Linked DNA regions of Homo sapiens: region 2 is linked to region 1. Evidence: promoter capture Hi-C in 16 types of primary human blood cells and fetal thymus (Javierre and others, 2016). All regions are on one chromosome and are shown on one strand. Each heading gives the region's core, a stretch centred on a gene start or on the middle of the fragment in contact. The rest is flanking DNA. Distances are from core to core; before and after follow the strand shown. Region 1 holds the start of LRRC74B (leucine rich repeat containing 74B). Region 2 holds the start of PPM1F (protein phosphatase, Mg2+/Mn2+ dependent 1F).

The links. Contacts are between HindIII fragments. The CHiCAGO score rates a contact against its expected background, and 5 or more counts as called.
Region 2: a contact is called between the fragment with the promoter of PPM1F here and the fragment with the promoter of LRRC74B in region 1, in 2 of 17 cell types (M2 macrophages and M0 macrophages). The highest score is 7.3, in M2 macrophages.

Annotation. Positions count from the first base shown.
Region 1 is chr22:21,044,468-21,051,181 of GRCh38, forward strand. It overlaps LRRC74B (leucine rich repeat containing 74B), which reads left to right and starts at 1,479. Exons shown (of 10, transcript NM_001291006.2): 1 at 1,479-1,658; 2 at 2,889-3,031; 3 at 3,417-3,549; 4 at 4,484-4,690. The coding sequence starts at 1,520. The HindIII fragment of the contact is 8,622 bases long and covers 925-6,714 here.
Region 2 is chr22:21,948,971-21,955,531 of GRCh38, forward strand. It overlaps PPM1F (protein phosphatase, Mg2+/Mn2+ dependent 1F), which reads right to left and starts at 3,878. Exons shown (of 8, transcript NM_014634.4): 1 at 3,822-3,878. RefSeq lists enhancers at 3,031-3,100, 3,147-3,667 and a silencer at 3,661-4,070. The HindIII fragment of the contact is 22,373 bases long and covers 1,478-6,561 here.

The sequences.
Region 1 (6,714 bases), core at 229-2,728:
CCATGCATCAGAGAGCCAGTGCCCTCAGACAATCACCTTCACTAGCCAGCACCCACCCCCAGCCTCAGTAGACCCAGCTCCGAGCTTATAGACTCCCCTGACCGGAGATATAGCTGGTGGTCTCTCTGGGGGCCTAGTGCTCCAGCTCTCACAGATGTTAAGGACAATGTCTTGTGCCCCCTGGGTGGGGCCGTGGGGAGGGACTGGGAAGCAGGCAGGTGGACACACAGGACAAACACACAGCTTGTTCTTGCTCTCCTGTCTTGTATTGCCTACCTCCCACCCCGTCCCATTATGGCCCCTTCCCCTCCAGCCCCTAAACAGCCCAACCCTCAACTTCAACCCAGCAGGACCAAGCCCCACCCCCGACCTCTTCCCTTGCCCCTCCAGCCTGGCCAAAAGCTCTTCTCTCTTACCCTACCACATAGACGACGATCCCAAACTGCAGCAGCCTCTGCAGGGCGCCCCCCCACCAGTTCCTGGTCATCACATACTTCTCCGTTTTATAATCCAGAAGCCCCTAGTCTGCTGTGGCCCCTGGGGAGCCCATGCTGCCAGCTCCTGCTAGCTGCGGGCACATGAGTCAGCATGGCAGCTGCAGCCGCAGCTGAACAGGAGGCAAAGCAGGGCCCGAGCCAGGCCACGCCAGCCGCTGTTAAAGGGACACTTCCACTAAAGCAGGATCCAGCCTCCAACACCCAGCCTTCAGCCCCTAACCCCAGCTGCCCTGCACCTCCCACCCTCCCTACATTCTCTTTGCTGGGCCCTGGTGGCACACAGAAAACAGCAGCTCTGTCCCTGCCCTCTGGCCTCACTTCCTCCGGTGGGAGTGGACGTGGTGAGAGGATGGGGAAGGACAGCTGTTATCAGTGCTGTGAGAAGACGGCCTGAGGGCAGCAACAGCCCCGGGGGGGCTCTGAGTAAAGCTTCAGGAATAAGTGACTTCTGAGCTGACGCTTGCAGATTCTGAAGTTCAACAAGCAGACAAAGATGGGGATGGAGGTTCCCAGGGGAGCGAACAGCGTATGCAAAGGCCAGCGCATGCAAGAGAACTGAGAGCCACAGAGTGAGAGGGTGACCTGGCTCTGCGAAGTTCCCCAGGCCCTCCTGAAAAGCCATTCCCAAGTGCAGTGAAGAAAACACAAGCTCTGGAGTCAGGCATGTTTCCCATTCCATGAAAGGGGGGCGATGCTGGAACCGCCTAGGGGAGGCAGGGGGATAAACGCAGCAAGGCGCCCAATCCGGTGCATGGTCTGTGGCGCATGCAGTGTATCAGCCCGGGCGAGGAGCCTCAGCACAAGCCGGCCACAGTTTCTACGGCAACCGACAACACCGGGTTGCCGGGGCGACCGCCGCGGGAGAGCGCGTCGCTATTGGCTGTGGGGGGTGCCTGTTGCTGGACGGCACATTCGGTTGGTCAGCGCAGCCGCAGACTCCGCCCACAATCCCGGGCCGCGCTCTGGGCGCGGGGTCAAGCTGTCTCCGACTCAGTGTCTGAGACTGCGAGAGGGTCGTAACCATGAGGGGTTCCTGTGAGAGGTCTGGGGAGGATGAAGAGCAGAAAGAAGAGGCTATGGTGGCCTGTGGGCGTCTTTCAGGGGTCCCCGAGGCCGAGCAGGGTCCCGAGGCCAATTGGGACTCCGACCTGGAGACGGAAGGTGCTCGGGGGAGGGGGCAGGCCCGACTCCTCCCCTTTGGGGGTCTTCTCCCGCAGGGGTTGGGGGAGGCGGGCTGGGGCTAAGGCCAGCAGGGAACGTACCCGCCTGCGGGGCGCCTCCAGCCCCCTGCCTTCCCTTCATTGCTCCTGGAAGCATCAGGATAAAATGCAAAATCCCGCCAGACAGTGCACCAAGGGCTGTCCCACCCTGAAATGAAATCAGAGCCGGGTTTTCCCAATCCACAGGAAAAACTAAGCTAATGGATGTATGGAATTTAGAACTATCTCGGTTTTTTCTCCCGTAAAATGTTTACAAAACATTTGTGGCCTGCAATCCAGGTTAAAAGACACAGCATGCAATTTGGCATCAGACAGGCAGAGGCCTGACTCTGGCAGGATTAGCTACCACCACTAGCTGTGGGATGCTCAGCGCAGGCCAGCCATGACTTCTACTACAAACAACATTGGGTTGCTTGGGCTCATATTTATTAATAAATAAATATATAAATAAATTATTTATTTATTAGAGCCAGGGTCTTGCTCTGTCACCCGGGCGTCAGTGCAGTGGCAGGATAATAGCTCACTGCAGCCTTGAACTCTGCACTCTAGTGAGCCTTCTGCCTCAGCCTCCTGAGTAGCTGGGACTACAGGAGACCACCACGTCTGGCTAATATAAAAATTTTTTGGCTGGGTGGGGTGGCTCACGCCTGTAATCACAGCACTTTGGGAGGCCCAGGCAGGCAGATCACCTGAGGTCAGGAGTTCGAGACCAGCCTGGCCAACATGGTGAAACCCCGTCTCTACTGAAAATACAAAAAACTAGCCCAGTGTGGTGGTGGGCGCCTGTAATCCCAGCTACTCGGGAGGCTGAGGCAGGAGAATTGCTTGAACCTGGGAGGCAGAGGTTTCAGTGAGCCGAGATCGTGCCACTGCATTCCAGCCTGGGTGACAGAGCAAGAGTCTGTCTCGAAAAAAAAAAAAAGAAAATTTGTCTAGCTATGTTGCCCAGGTTGTCCAGCTTTCTTTTGATAGCCGTATGACTTTAAGGAAAAGATTTGCGTTGCCTGAGGCTTGATGTCCTCATCTGTCATATGGGAGCAGTGGTCCCAAGAAGCACAGGAAGCAGTGCTTCTAGAGGCAAAACATAGGCCAGGTAGTGACACAGGGCAGGGGAGGACACAGGTGGCTGTAGCTGTGCAGGGTCCACATTCGTCCCCCTGTCTCCTGCCAGGCACCGATGGGCTTGGAGAACTGGTCAGGGACACACTGTACCTGAGGTCTTGCCGGGCCCATAGTGTTGTGCCCATCTCCTGCTTTCTGCGCCAAGGGAGCGCCCAAGAGCTGAACCTCCGGCACCGTGGCCTGGGGCCCCAGGTACCACTGGAGGGACACTGTATCCAGGCTTACGGGGAGAGGCCTCGGGAGACAGCAGCCATGGGAGTGCCCCTGTGTCTGTCCCCTACACTCCCCAGCTTCTGCCTGTGTCAGTCATGCCCTACCCTCCACATCTGGGAGACAGATGGGATTGAGGCTGTGACAGGTGGCGTTAAGGGTTGTGGATCCTGCAGGCTCCTAACCCGCTGGGGGGTCAGGGAGAGCTGGGGGTGGGGGGAGACCTTCACAGAGCCTAAAAGGAGAAGCAGGTGTCACTTAAAACAGGTGGGAAGGGGAGGGCTTTCCAGCTGGAGGATGTGGAGTGGGCTGAGCCCTGGAGCATGAGCCAGGATAGTGGCCAGTGTGTTTGCTCTGTCTGTCCCAGGGCGCCCGGGCTCTGGCTTCCTCATTGAGCTCCAATCCATATGTCAAGCGGCTGGACCTTCGAGACAATGGGCTCTGTGGGGCAGGTGCAGAGGCCCTGGCAGGTGCCCTGAGCAAAAGCAGCAGCATCCATGGTAGGTGCTGGGTCTGGGGCAGGTGGGCAGGCGTGTCCTCCTTTTCCTCAGGGATGTGCCTCCATCGTTGAAAGCTGGGCCGTGTCACCTGGGGCCTGCTGGTGTTGCTGGTGGATAGAAGAGGGGCCTCATCACAGGAGGGGGCATGTGGGGTGGAGTTAGACCCTCTGCTGTGCAGCCGATGCCTGATAGAAGTCCTTTCCTCACCCACCCCACACCATCACTCCCCTCCCTTGCTGGCCAGCATCCCCCTCTTCACCTAGCACATGGGAGACTCCCAGTACCTGAATGCAGGATGGGAGAGTCCTTCCACACAGAGAGGTGGGAGTTGGGCATTGTAAGAAGCAGGTAGGCAATGTGGGAGTTTGATGGGGCTGGATCCAAATGCCAGTTCTGCCACTGAAGAGCTGGATACCTGGGCAAGCAGCTTAACCTCTCTGAGCTTCAGTTTCTGATCTGTGAAATGGCCCCCAAAATACCTTATGGGCTTGGGGCTGTGGTGAGCATGAAGTGAAATGCACTCCTGAAGTGGTCAGAAGAGTGTGTGACCCATGTACGTGCTCCATGCATGGCCACTTGGGCTATTATTGCCAATCCTGGCAACGGGGCTGTGAGGGCTTCTGAAGTGGGTGGTGATATCACTGCCAGATGCAGCCATCGACGGTATAGCTGCCCCCCACCACAGCAGTCTCTACAGTACCAGGAGGTAGGCGGTTTTAACCACTTGACACAGAAGCTGGTGGGCACACAGGGAGGGGGAGGTCAGGGGCAGAGGGGACCCAGCCATTGGGAGCCAGAGCCACCATGCAACCCCAGGACAGTTAACCTGTAAGTCCCCTTCCTCAGCCTCAGACCTGGAGGTTTGGGGGATGGCAGAAGTAGGGGAGTGCCTGGCTTTGCATCCCACTGGCCGAGGAGTGGTTCTGTCCCCCAGATGTGGACCTGTCGGAGAACCAGCTGGGAGTGGCAGGAGCCCAGGCCCTCTGTGCCGCCCTCACAGTGAACCAGGCCATGCGGAAGATGCAGCTGTCAGGGAATGGCCTGGAGGAGCAGGCGGCCCAGCACCTTGCCGAACTCCTGCTGGCCCACACAGACCTGAAGTCCCTGGACCTGAGCTACAACCAGCTGAATGACCAAGCAGGTAACGCCTGCGCAGGGCACCATGGCCATGAAAGCTCAGCTTCCTGGGGCAGGGATGGGTGGGGGTTGGCAGGACCGCGCTGCACATCGCCAGGGAGCATGTGCTCTGGTTCCTGCTCCCCACACCCCACCTTGCCCCACTCCTCTTCCACTCCAGCCACACGGAACTCTTCATTCCTTCCACAAATATCTCATTGCGCGCTGCTGTATGTGCTGGGCACTGACTTAGCCACCAGGGATCCACCTTGAACAAAACCAAGTTCCTGACCTCAAGGGACAATGTTAACAACATCATTCTGAGTAATTATTGGTGCTACAAAAGAAACAAATAGTTTATGATTCTAGAGAAGAACAGGGACCCCCTACTTTAAAGAGGTGGCTGGGGAGGCCTCTGTGAGGTGACATTTAAGCTGAAATGTGCAGGGTGGGAAGGAGTCAGCCATGGCAAGATCAGAGGGAGAGCATTGCAAGCAGAGGAATAGTGAGCATGCGGGCCTGTTTCCCAGACTGGCGGACAGCAGTGTGCCTAGGCTAGGGAGCCAGGGAAGCGTGGCCAGGCTGTGGGGTGGAGAGGGCAGAGGGGGCTGCAGGGCTGTAGGCCGTGGCAAAAACGGTGAAGATTTTGTTTCAAGTGAGGTAGCGGATGTGATTGGGATTCCTTGATCTCATCACTGTCATGCCCCTGAGCATATTCAGGAGCTGTCTGCTTTGCCAGGAATTTGCACTTCTACCTGCCTCTCCTCAAATGGTCCAATAATGGTAAGGATCACCTGAGACCCTGGGTTAGGCATGCAGATGCTGACCCTGGACCTGCTGAACCAAACTCTTAGGGGAATGCTGGTGAATCTGTATTTTAATGGTTGCCCCAGGAGAATCGTCTTTTTATTTTTTATTTTTTGAGACAGAGTCTCGCTCTGTCACCCAGGCTGGAGTGCAATGGTGTGATCTCTGCTCACTGCAGCCTCTGCCTCCCAGGTCCAAGCAATTCTCCTGCCTCAGCCTCCTGAGTAGCTGGGATTACAGGTGCGTGCGACAAGGCCTGGCTAATTTTTCTATTTTTAGTAGAGATGGGGTTTCACCGTGTTGGTCAGGCTGGTCTCGAACTCCTGACCTTGTGATCCGCCCGCCTTGGCCTCCCAAAGTGCTGCGATTACAGGTGTGGGCCACCGCGCCTGGCCGAGAATTGTTTTTCAGAAGCACTCCTCTGTCTCCAGCTGCTTAGAGCAAGTGGGGTGACATCAGCCTTGGCCTGTGAGAATTGCCTCTGGCATATAACTGCCAGAGAACCAGTTTGCCTTCTAAGAAAATTATTGCAAGAAGTCAGTGAAATTAAGTGAGGTGGCCGGGCCCGGTGGCTCACGCCTGTAATCCCAGCACTTTGGGAGGCCAAGGCAGGTGGATCATGAGGTCAGGAGATCGAGACCATCCTGGATAACACGGTGAAATGCCGTCTCTACTAAAAATACAAAAAATTAGCCGAGTGTGGTGGCAGGCGCCTGTAGTCCCAGCTACATGGGAGGCTGAGGCAGGAGAATGGCATGAACCCAGGAGGCGGAGCTTGCAGTGAGCCGAGATAGCACCACTGCAGTCCGGCCTGGGCGAAAGAGCGAGACTCTGTCTCAAAAAAAAAAAAAAAAAAAAAAAAGTGAGACTTGGCAAGGCACTGTGCCTATCTGTAATGCCAACACCACTTCGGGAGGCTGAGGGGCGAAGATTGCTTGAGGCCAGGAGTTAGAAACCAAACTGGGCAACATAGGGAGCCCCAGTGGTGACAACAAATGATTAAAAAAATTAGCCCCGGGCAACAGAGCGAGACTCCGTCTCAAAAAAAAAAAAAAAAAAAAAAAAAATTAGCCCCAAGTGGTGACATGTGCCTGTAGTCTCAGTCAGGAGGCTGAGGTGGGAGAATTGCTTGAGCCCAAGATGTCAAGGCTGCAGTGAGCCGTGATTGTCCCACTGCACTCCGGGTTGGGCAACAGGGTGAGACCGTGTCTTAACAACAACAAAAAATACTTTCTTTCCTCT
Region 2 (6,561 bases), core at 2,628-5,127, 910 kb after region 1:
CCCTCCCCACAATCGGCCTGTTCCCTCAGGGAGGGTGGCTCCTCCTGTCTGCACTACAGACCCTGATTCACTGTGGCCACCTGCCTGCTCTCTCTGTGCCTTGTGCCCACTATCTGCACATGCCTCAATGGTGTCTGTGCCATGTGTACTAAGTAAGGTCTGGGGGGTGTGATGATGTGTGTGTGTGAAGCTCTGTCTGCATCTGTAGAGGGGACAGGCTGGCTTACTCTCAGGGCCTGTGCCAACTGCCTGCTCTTGTTACAAAGGCAGGGTGCCCAGGGCCATCTTACTTGCTGGGGACCAAGCACCCTTGTTTCTGCATCACCAACCTAAGGCAAGGGGTGAGGAGAGAAACCAGGACACAGCTTTCTCTCCCTGGAGCCCAGATGTCGAAAGGGACAGGAATCATTTCCTTCCTTTTCCCAATAAGCTCCTGAATCTGACGTACACCATGGCACACCCGGCAGGAAGGAGAAATTCCTCACCAAGGGAAACCAGAGGCAGCCCTGGGAGTGCCTGGAGGGGCAGGGGACAGTGCTGTGGTTCTTTGAGGGATCAACTGGAAGAGACAGCATCAGGAATGGCATGGAGGCCAGCGGCAAGCCGCAGGGAGTAGGGAGAGCTGGGAGAGCACCAGAGGCAGCGGAGCCTGGTGCTGGGCTTTCCTGAGCAGGGCACACCAGTGAAAAACTCCGAATAAGAGGGACGTGTGCATGAGCCTGTGCAAATCACCAAGAGCCCGGGGTGGGCATGGGAGGGACATTGGACTCCTGCATCCCAGCACCGCCTGCCTGGACCAGTCTGACCAAATGCGACTGGCAGCTGGTTCCTCCTGGATCAGGGCCCCACTGCACACCAAATGGGTGCTCACCCTCCTAGAACCTATTTAAGGTCCCACATAGGTGAGAAATGGCAAAGCAAACTCATCGGGGGGCAGCTGCAGGGGTGTGGCTGACGGTGCTGCCAGCTGCCATCCGCCCCTGCTCTGAGCACTCTTCCTGGGATGGCTTTTAGCCTCCCAACAACCTCTTGTGGTTATCCCCACTTCACAGGGCAGGCTGTAGCAGAAGAGCTAAGGAACTTGCCCAAAGTCCCAGGGTGGGGTTCATGCTGGGGAACCTGGGCCTTAACTGTGATGACACCTGGGAAGTCATTCTGACTCCTTCTATCCCTGACCTGTCCCTCATTGGCCACCAGCTCTGGGCTTTGGCTCTCTCATGGCTCCTCCTTCCATTTCTGTGTACCCCCCACCCTAGGGCAGCCCCTCCCCTCCTTGTTTTGTGGTGCCCTCCTTCCATTTTGCCTCCCGAGATCTCTCAGATCCTTTGAGGCTTTGCTGAAATCTCCCCATCTTTGGATCCAGCATGCTCTCTTTCATGTCTCTATGGCACTTTTGCTCACATCTGACTTGTAAAAAGTTTTTTTTTTTTTAATTTAAAATATTTATTTTCCTCTAGTGCATTAGTTTTGACTCCTAAGCTTAACGAATGCAGGGTTTAACAACTGCAGTTTTTTAGGGGACATAGAAAAAATACTTGTTGAGTCTTGCTTAACTGCAGAACCAAGGTAATGAAAAAAACCCAGCAATCCTTAGAAAAGGGAACTGCACCACTATAGTGTAACAAAAGCATCATTCATGTTAACTGTTTTTTTTTGTTTTTGTTTTTTTTGAGACAGAGTCTTGCTCTGTCACCCAGGCCGGAGTGCAGTGGCGCAATCTTGGCTCACGGCAACCTCCGCCTCTCAGGTTCAAGTGATTCTCCTGCCTAAGCCTCCCTAGTAGCTGGGATTACAGGCACCCACAACCACGCCTGGCTAATTTTTTTGTATTTTTAGTAGAGATGGGGTTTCACCATGTTGGCCAGGCTGGTCTCGAACTCCTGACCTCAGGTGATCTGCCCGCCTCAGCCTCCCAAAGTGCTGTGATTACAGGTATGAGACACCACGCCTGGCCAACCTTTTTCTACCAAAAGAGATTCTTATTTCTTTATTCATAACTACTAATACTAATAATAGTTAGATGTAAATCCTAGATTTTTTTTCTACATATATAAATTTTTTTTATTGTTGTAAAATATACACACTATGTATCCTTTTAACCATTTCTAAGCGTACAGTTCCATGGCATTAAGCATAGTCACATTGCTGTGCAATGACCATTTCTTTCTACAGGCCTGACTTTCTTGATAGACTGTAAGCTCCCTGTAGTCAGGGAGCCCACGATGGCCCTTTGTGTACAGCAGGTGGTAAGTGTGATGGCAGAGGGAAGAGTGACTGGCGGGTGGCATGGGCTGAGGAAGCTACACCACTCTGAAGGGTGCAGTGGGCAGCAGCGCCAGGTCTTAAAAGACTCGGTTGGCTTCAGGTCAGATGGTATCCTTTTTTTTTTTTTTTTTTTTTTTGAGAGGGAGTTTCGCTCTTGTTGCCCAGGCTGGAGTGCAATGGTGGGATCTCAGCTCACTGCAACCTTCGCCTCCCAGGTTCAAGCAATTCTCCTGCCTCAGCCTCCTGAGTAGCTAGGATTACAGGCACCTGCCACCACGCGCGGCTAATTTTTGTATTTTTAGTAGAGATGGGATTTTGCCATGCTGGTCTGGAACTCTTGACCTCAGGTGATATGCCTGCCTCGGCCTCCCAAAGTGCTGGGATTACAGGTATGAGCCACCGCGCCCGGCCTTCAGGGGGTATCTTAAAGGAATTCCACAAATGAACTTGTGTAGAGGTTCATGGCTTTCAGAAATGCATTCGTTTTGTTTACCTCTCACAACTACGCTGAGAAGTACATACTGTCAGGCTACACTGCAGATGAAGAAATAGGTTATAGGAGGGCAAGCACCCATTTAAGGTCTCACACAGGTGAAAGGGCAAAGCGAACTCAATCAAGGTCTCTGGATGCCCAATGCCTTTGGTATTTCCACCTCGCGTGCAGGAGGAAAAGAGCGAAATTTGACAACAGAAGAGACTGGAGATGGCCTCAGAGTGCTGGCCGGCCCCACTTTCTATCCCCCGTGGTGAGAGCTCAGCTGGGCCCAGAGAACTTGTCCCGGGGAATGCCACCACGACATGTGTGACTCTGTCCCGCAGGGTGGAAGGCTTCGAAGGAGCCCGCCACCATGCAGTGGGCCTCACTGTGTGTCAAGCGCTGTGCCGAAATCCCTGCAGCCGGAGCCAGTTCTTCCTGTTGTACAGACAGGTTCAGGGGCTTGCCTGACCGAACCCAGCGGCAATGTGCCCGGCCTCCGCGCCTGAGGCTCTGGCTCACAGACCTGTGGCTGAAGCAGCTGCAGCCCGAGCACTTGTGCAGCTGACGCTCGCTTCACGGACGCTTGGGAGGCCGCGGAGCCGGGGGCCATCAGGCAGACTGGGCCCCTGAAGGTGCAGGGACTGGGGGGATATGGGGCAACGTGCCGGCCCAGAGGCTCCTGGGGGGTGGGGAGAGGCCAAATCTCGGAAAATGGGGCGCGTCCCCCTCAGCACCCGATTCTGCCTCATAGCCCTCGGTCCCTACCAGGCCCTCGGCTCGGCCACACCCCCGCCTGCCCCCCAGTTCTGCCCCCTTGGCTCCCCAGCCCCCCAACTCCCAGCCTCGGGTTCCTCATGTCCGCAGCGGCCCCTCTTGCTCCTCGGCCCCCCGCACTGCACCCCCGCACCCTTTCGGTGCACCCATGTGAGCCTCGTCTCGGCCTCCTTGCCTCCCCAGCCCTCTGATTCCACCCCTCCGGTTCCTCGGTCCCATTTCACCCCTGTGCGCCTTGGGCGCTCGCCTGACCCTCGTCCCAGCCCCGTCAGCCCTCTAATCCCGTCCCCCCCGGCCTCCTCACCCCTGGTCTCCGCGGGCCTCAGCTGTCTCCTCGCGGCTCCGTGTCCCGCAAGCTGCTGCCGGCCGGCCCCGCCCACTTCCCGTCCCTGGCCGCCGCGGGCGCCGCGGGCGCCGCGCAGGCGCAGTCGGGCCTCCAGGCTGGCGGGGCCGGACCTCTGCTGCCCCCTGGCGGCTACGTGGACGGTGACTGCGGCCCTTTAGTGGTAGGCGAACTGCGGCTCCACCTGGGCTCCGGAGCCGCCCCAGTCACCAGCCTCTTGCTTCTCTTCTGCAGCTTTGGGTGGGCGGCTGGATGGGGAAAGCAATCCCTAGGTCACAGCGCCCAGAAATTAAGCAACTTCTGCCGTCAATAGCTGGTAAGTGACAGAGCAGGGATGCAAACCCAGACTGCCCAGGCAGGCTCATCCGTCCGGGAAGGAGGCACAGTCCCAGGCTCATTATGAGTTGTTTGTTTCCACAAACGTTGAGGCTTTTGTTATCTTTCCGTTCTGGAGGTCAGAAGTCCACTTAGCCTCAGTGGGCGAAGATCCAGGGATCGCCAGAATGCGTTCCTTTCTGAGGATTCTAGGGGAGAAACTGTTCCCCTGCCTTTTCCAGCTCCTAAGGGCTCCCTGCATACCTTGGCTCGTGGCCCCTTCCTACAGCCTCGAAGCCAGCAATGGCCAGTTGAGCCTTTCTCACACTGCCACCTCTGGTTCCCTCCTCTGCTTCCTTCTGCTACTTCTAAAGACCCTCCTGATGCCATTGGGCCCACCCAGATAGTCCAGCATCATCTCTCTAAATCAGTTGATTAGCAACCTTAATTCCCCTTTGCCCCTTATTATTATTATTATTTTTTTTTGACACGGAGTCTCACCCTGTCACCCAGGCTGTACTGCAGTGGCATGACCTCGACTCACTGCAACCTCTGCCTCCCTGGTTCAAGCGATTTTCCTGCCTCAGCCTCCCGAGTAGCTGGGACTGCAGGCACGCACCACCATGCCCGGCTAATTTTTTTTGTATTTTTAGTAGAGATGGGGTTTCACCATGTTGGTCAGGCTGGTCTCAAACTCCTGACCTCAAATGATCTGCCTGCCTCGGCCTCCCAAAGTGCTGGGATTACAGTACAGGCGTGAGCCACTATGCCGGGTCTGCCATGTAATCTAACACAGGCACAGGTATAGGACATGAACATCTCTGAAGGGCCATTTTTCTGCCAACACAGAGGCTCTTGAAAATATTCTTTTTCTCTCTTTTTAGAGACAAGCTCCTTCTCTGGTGCCCACACTGGAGTGCAGTGGCATGATCACAGCTCACTGCAGCCTCAAACTCCTGGGCTCAAGTGACCCTCCCCTCCTGCCTCAGCCTTCCTAGTGTCTGGGAACACAGGCAAGCACCACCACGCCCAGCTGATTAAAAAAAATTTGTAGAGACAGGGTCTCTATGTTGCCCAGGCTGGTCTTGAACTCTTGGGCTCAAGTGATCCTCCTGCCTCAGCCTTCCCAAGTGCTGGGATTATAGGTGTGAACCATTACACCTGGCCAAAATATTTTATTTTAAAGGCAGAAGAAAGAAACCTTTATGTCAAAGAAAATGTTTTAATATATGATATTAATATATTCACCTTTATACCAATGCCGTTGGAAAGTATAATTTTTTAAATGGAGGATGGGGCACCAGATCTTATGTGGCTCTGCCCACCTGACCTTCAGGTCCGCAGGCCTGTGTCCTTGCCAGGAATGAATGTCTCTGGGATGCTTCTCTAACAGGAGGAACCTGGAGTGAGACCAGGAACCTGGAGAACTAGCAGCTGGGTGACTGGAAAGGAAACCATCTGGGGTGGGGTTGGGTCTGCAAGGCAGGAGGTGTCTGGGCAGAGAAAGCAGGGCTGGGGCGGAGGGTCCTGCCTCATCCCATTCTCCTGCTCACTCTTTCCTAGATCCCTGTCAGGGCAGTAACCATGAGCAAGGCTTGAGGCTACTTCTTATAAACAGTGGCCCTGGGCACATTCCTTAGCTCACCTGAGCCTCAGTTTCTTGATGAGAAAAAATCGGGACAATAGCAACCAACCTATCTCAGAGGGCTGCTGTGAGACCCTGAGCCACTGTTTCTCAAACTGCCCCTGAGATCACCTACAACAGAATGGCTGTAGGGTGAAGTTTGAGAACCGCAGTACAGGTGAGGTGGTGCGTGGGGCAGGCCCTCCCACACTGTAAAGTGCAGTGTGGTGCGGTAAAAGCTGATATTCCCGCAGGCATCCTCAGAGTGGGCCCAATTAGACTCTTGAGCACTGATTCCATTCAAGGTCTGCGGCTTAGAGAGGATGGCAAAGTGAGGCACCACCAGGAGCTTGTCCCTATGGGCTCCAGGCCAAGGACGTGCCTGGAGATGACTCCTGCCTTGTGGCGCTGTCACTGCCTCACTGTCCACATTCCATCACGCCTCAGATCCTGGCTTCCACCCTGGTGAAAGGAATCTTTCAATATCACCCACCCAGCCACAGACGCTTCTCTGCTTCTCTGGCAAGGCTGCACCCCTGGCTAGGTGGGCAGGGCCAGGGGCTCCTTGAGACAGTCTGCAGCCACTGACCTCTCCAGCCTCCAGGGCAGAGGTACAGTCCCATGGAGCGTGGCTGATCTGAAGGCAGTTCTGGCCTAAAAGGGGTCTTGTCCCTTCCTTGTCCTCATTGCTCCCAAGGCCAGGTTGGCAGCAGTAGCAGCGGGGTTGGATGCTATTGGATGGGAGAAGGTGAATGGACTCGG